Regions from separate parts of the Homo sapiens genome. Here region 2 is linked to region 1. Evidence: promoter capture Hi-C in human tissues and cell types (Jung and others, 2019). All regions are on one chromosome and are shown on one strand. The core of a region is centred on a gene start or on the middle of the fragment in contact, and the rest is flanking DNA. Distances in the headings are between cores, read along the strand shown.

Evidence for each region. The method cuts DNA at HindIII sites, captures the fragments that hold promoters and counts their contacts. A contact is called where the count stands out against the background at its distance.
Region 2: a fragment that was not itself captured here is called in contact with the fragment with the promoter of CES3 in region 1 in 2 of the 25 tissues and cell types used here (IMR-90 fibroblasts and dorsolateral prefrontal cortex).

Annotation. Positions count from the first base shown.
Region 1 is chr16:66,959,995-66,962,894 of GRCh38, reverse strand. CES3 (carboxylesterase 3) reads right to left here and starts at 1,629. Exons shown (of 13, transcript NM_024922.6): 1 at 1,506-1,629. The coding sequence starts at 1,587. RefSeq lists enhancers at 1,438-1,647, 1,432-1,933, 1,738-1,987. The HindIII fragment of the contact is 25,956 bases long and covers 1-2,900 here.
Region 2 is chr16:67,088,024-67,090,916 of GRCh38, reverse strand. All of the region lies in intron 5 of CBFB (core-binding factor subunit beta), which reads right to left. Among named protein-coding and RNA genes, the nearest start is that of PHAF1, 20 kb to the left of the region's middle. The HindIII fragment of the contact is 5,567 bases long and covers 1-2,893 here.

The sequences.
Region 1 (2,900 bases), core at 380-2,879:
GACAGGGTCTAGCTCTGTTGACCAAGCTGGAGTGCAGTGGCACGATCTTGGCTCACTGCAACCTCTGACTCCCGAGTTCAAGCGACTCCAGGGCCTCAGCCTCCCAAGTAGCTGGGATTACAGGTGTGCACCACAACGCCTGGCTAATTTTTGTATTTTTAGTAGAGACGGGGTTTCATCATGTTGGCCAGGCTGGTCTCGAACTCCTGACCTCAAGTAATCCATCCACCTGGGGCTCCCAAAGTGCTGGCATTACAGGCATGAGCCATCATGCCCAGCCCTGAATTATTTTTTAAAAAGTAGAGATGGGGTCTCATTATGTTGCCCAGGCTGGTCTCAAACCCCTGGGCTCAAGCAATCCTTTCACCTCAGCCTCCCCAAGTGCTGGGACGACAGGTGTGAGCCATCATGCCCAGCTGGCACCATGTTTCTTGTACGGCCTGCAGAACTGTGGCCTAACTAAACTTCTTTTCTTTGTGAATTACCCAGCTTCCTGTATTCTTTTACAACAACACAAACAGACTAAGACTGGAGGACTGCCTCTCCCAGGCTAGACAATTCCTAGAGATAGGAGGCAGCTCTCTGGGGAGGTGGAATTGGCAGGCATCTCTCTAGGGAGCAAAGGCAAACCAGTCCAGAGCCATACCCAACCACCTCCTTTATACAGCTCTCAGCTCCTGGCTGCCATCCACCAGCCATAATCACCACAGAGCCGGGTACCAGGAAGCTGGCTGGGGACAGCCCCTTTCCCCAGAGCCTGCTGCCAATCGTAAACCTCTTTAGCCTGCCTTGCCTATTCCTTCCCGTGGCAACCGTGTCAAAGGGGCTTGCCCACATTTTCCCCCTGCTCCCTCTGCCTCCTGGCTGATGCCACCTGGTGCTTCCCTCTGTGGCCCTATGTGGCATGGCCTGCTTCCTGTTCACAGGGAACTACGAGCAAACTCCTTCCCTCATGATAGTCATTTGCATATCTGCTTGTCTTACTATACTTCATTAAAACAAATCTCAGGCCCCCTTAAGACATAAAGACAGGCCAGGTGCGGTGGCTCACGCCTGTAATCCCAGCACTTTGGGAGGCCGAGGCAGGTGGGTCACCTGAGGTCAGGAGTTTGAGACCAGCCTGGCCCACATGGTGAAACCCCATCTCTCCTAAAAATACAAAAATTAGCCGGCCATGGTGGCAGGTGCCTGTAATCCCAGCTACTCAGGAGGCTGAGGCAGGAGAATCGCTTGAATCCAGGAGGCGGAGGTTGCAGTGAGCCGAGATCGCGCCATTGCACTCCAGCCTGGGTAACAAGAGCAAAACTCTGTCTCAAACAACAACAACAAAAACAACGAAACAAATACAGCAAGAGCAGAGCGCCTGCCCAGAGAGAATGCACAACCCCTGGTCTGCCTCCAAACAGGACTGTTTCCTGAGCGGTCGGCCCACTGCTCCCTGTCCCTGTCTCACTCTTGACTCCTCCACACCAAGTACCTCTGCAGGCCCAGCAGGTGTGTCTTACCAGTGGCTGTGGCAGGGCATGCCAGGAGCAGACAGACCACCCCGACCAGGACCCCGGACTCCACTCTCACTGCTCTCTCCATTCTCCTTACAACTGGTTCGACAGAAGCTTCAGAAGGTGGAATAAGATCCCTGCCCTTCAGCACCACCGATCTCTAAAGGGCTGTGATATAGAACCTCCAAGGACAGCGCCACCTAGCTGGTGGCCAGCCCCATGCTCAGGCTGAGCCAGAGGCAGGGCTAGATGAGTGCCCTGCAGAGGCCTGGTTGATATGACAGCCCTCCCCGTCCCACTGTTTTCAAATTCCAGCTCTCCTGACTTGGTGATCTCCATGAAATCCTGTGCGTTCATCCCAAGGTGACCACATCACTGACCCTAGGAAGTGGTGGCCAGTGACCCTGGGGTGCCACTCCGAGTGGGCAACCCAGCCTGAGGTGAGGGCTTGATATGGTTTGGATGTTTTGTCCCCTCCAAATCTCATGTTAAAATGTGAAAGAAAATAAAACAGTGATGATAATAGGACCCACCTCATAGCATTGAAGTGAGGGTACATGTTTGCATGTGTGTGTGAGTGTGTGTGTGAAAACATGAGGCTTGGGACTGGGTGTGGTGGCTCATACCTGTAATCCCAGTGCTTTAGGAGGATGGGGCAGGAAGATCGCTTGAGCCCAGGAGTTTGAGACCAGCCTGGGCAACACAGGGAGACACGTCTCTAGAAAAAATAAAAAAAATTAGCCAGGTGTGATGGTGCATGCCTGTGGTCCCAGCTACTTGGGAGGCTGAGGTGAGAGGATCACTTGAGCCCAGGTTGTCGAGACTGCAGTGAGCTGTGATAATGCCACTGCACTCTAGGCTAGGCTATAGAGCAAGACAAAGAAAGAGAGAAAGAGAGAGAGAGAAGAAAGAAAGGAGAGAGAGAAAGAAGGAGAGAGAGAAAGGAGAGAGAGAAAGAAAAAGAGACAGAAAAAGAGAAAGAAACAAAAAGAGAAAAAAGAAAAATAGAGAGAGAAAGAAAGAGAGAGAGGGAGGGAGGGAGGGAGGGGAGGGGAGAGGAGGGGAGGGGCTTGGAACCAGAACTCATGGAAGCCTGAGGAGAGGAGAGTCTGGGAACCAGAACTGATGGAAGCCTGCTCTTGACCGGGGCGGGGATCTGCAGGGCATCTGTCTCTCTGCTGGCTTAGGAGGCTCCCACCCCCAGGGAGGGCAGGACTCACTTCTGGGCCTCAGTGTCAGGAACATGGCTGGCTGGGAGTAGGCGGTGGGAGGATGGATAGATATTTGCTGGCCCAGTGAAAGACAGAGTGAGGGTTGTGCCTAAACACGATGCCAGATCCTCTTCCGGGGCTCCAGCTGGCACCCAGAGCTGAAGAGACAGGCTTTAGGATGAAACTTCCC
Region 2 (2,893 bases), core at 324-2,823, 130 kb before region 1:
AGAATTGAAGGCCCCAAAACTATGCAAAATACAAATACAAAAACCACATAAAACTTTTTGCCTGTTTTTATTTCCAAATAGTTTCCACATAAAATTCTATGATTTGAATTGTATTAAAATTGCTCATAGTAGGATAAACAATAATTTACCCATTCTCTGACATTAAAGACAACCATTTATTTGCTGCCACTTTATAATCTAACCAAATGTAGGCATTTTTAAGATAATAGAGAAAATATCTTTAAGCACCCTGTCACCTTGGAGCTGAGTTAAAAGCCAAGAGTGCTATATTACAGTTTTAGGTCAAAAGGCCAATCAAGTTGAAGGCAGTCTCTGGAAACAGAGACTAGTGTACAAGTTGCTATCTTTCTAACTCAACTATGATCAGAGCATGAAATCTGTCCTTTATTAACCTCCATCTTCCTTCACAAAAGACATTTGAATTAGTTATAGACATATATACCCCAAAAAGAAAGGTCATGGGAAACATGTCAACATTTTCAGATCAAGGAAGGATTCTCAGACAGAAAAGGTGCTAGGATGCTTCTATATAGCAACAGATGCCAATGGAGAGCATTTCACAAAAGTAACGTCTGTGATTATTTTTTATTTTTAAAAGCCTTCTTTTTATACAAGTACAGAATAGTGCCCAAATTGTTAAGTATGTAATGAAGAATTTTCACAAAGCGAACACACCCACCTAACTAGCACCCAGGTCAAGAACTAACATTACCAGAACATGGGAAGTTCTCTTCATACCCACTTCTAGTCACTACTCAATCCCCACAGTAACTGGTAGCCTCCAACAGAGCCAAGAAAAGTCCAAAATCCTTTACTGGTTGTTTTAAAAAACCAAACCAACCAACCAAACAAAAAACACCAGAATCTAAAATGGCTTGGCAAAATAGTATCTTCGACTTTCATAGTCTAAAGTTAGGATATGACTACTTTTACTGTTTTCCTGCCACTCCAGATATATTGTGAGCCAAGTACACAGAAAGAAGGGGTAAAGAAACTGGCTTCCACTGAGTCCCCATTCTAAGCCTCAGATACTGAGCTCTGCAACAACCTGGGAGGGAGTTTTTACTGATGAGGCTCAATGAGAATAAGCAACTTTCTCAATGCTATATGGCAACAAGTAGTGGAGCCGGGATGCAAAACCTTGTGCTCATTCCACTACATCCAGAGTCCTCATTATGTTCTGCCACCCACTGGGTTCCGTAAAAACACCCCCAGGGACACCAGAGGGAGACCAGAACAATCCCTACCCTGGCTTTGCCCAGAGCAGTGCCTTTTAAAAAAACTGTTTTATACAGTGGGGCTCTGTATACAATTTCAAATGGAGGAAGGGTTTCACATAAAAAACAGCCTATATGCCAGAGAATAGAGATAGCAAGGTCTAGAATCTTCTGTTTTCATTATTCTGTGTAATACTGAAAGCAAATTTTATTTTTTTCTAAATAATTAATGATACAAAATTCATAAGGTACAGAAGATACACAGTGAAAAATAATAATTTGCTTATTTTGTCCCCCAGGTACCTGGTTCTCCCCCATAGTTTCTAGTTCCAGTTTCTTAGATATTCTACTAGAGAATGACTATGCACATTTAAACAAAAATTACCCACAGAGTAGGAAAAATACCCAGAGAGTAAGATATTATACACAGTACTGTGTACCTTATGTATATCATTTTAATGTATATCAATGACAAGAGTATTTGGTAAAGGTTACTAACATAAACAATGCTTCTTCATTTCACTATAGTTTCTCATTTCAAGTTAATGATAATCTGCCATTACCTCTGAAAGGTAAAGAAAATATTGTACTACTGAAATAGGCTGTTCCAGAAAAATGAGAAAAAGAAAACACTAAATCCTATCATGAAGGATCGAAAACTTTCTAAATTTTACACATGGTGAAATGGAAGAATGCTCAAGGAATTTTATAACTAGTTTCAGGTTAAAAGACACTGTTGAAAATCAAAACCCCTTGGGCCACCAACCACTTGGAGTTCTGCTTCCCCCCTTAGTAATCTTAACCTTACACATAGATTAAATACTCACGAGCACCACTGTTACAAGTTTAGCATGGCAGGGCTGGAGGCCTCAGAAGTTATCCAAACAGTGGAGGACATCCCTAAACCTCTGTGCTGCTAGGATCTCAAGCTTCCACAGGCCGTTTACTGACTTGCTGCCACCCATGAGTTACCACTGTTCTCTGGCCCTCCTCTCCAGTCAGGCATCAGGACCACCCACTAGAACCATTATTTTTCTTTTCTGCCTCAGCCTTTTCTATTCCAGGCAAAACGGTTCTTAATCTCTCCTGGCAGATTTTATTTTTCAGCTTAAGCATCTTTACGGGTGGTGTGGAAATTAATTTCCCAGCGCTAAGCTGTATTTGTGCAGGCCTCCTGGTTAGGAAACTGGTTTAAATACTCACTGTTTCTTCCATTAACCAAATATTTGAGGGAGAGCAAGTCAATTAATTTTTTGGAGACTCTCAGTTTTATCAACTGTAATAATGTTAGATTAGATGATGTTTGAATCTCTAAAGATAATCTGAATCACAGAGGGGAAACAACATTTTTCTCCAATATTCTCTTTTTAGGAAAAAGAAGGTAAACTGCAAGAAAATAAGGTGACATTAGGAATTTTTTATGGATGGAAAAAAAAGACAAAGAAGCAAAATATATACACGCTAAGTGCCAAAAGACACACAAACCCCAAACTCCCCTATGTGATTGCCAGTGCATGTGCTGGAGTCAGATTCCAGCCCAATTTTCCAGATGACAGTTCTCTACAAGAACTGATGTTTTAAATTACTGCCATAAGGGACTACAGGATCTTAAATCATTGATGAAAATATAACTCTTTTCTCTATGCTCTAGGTCA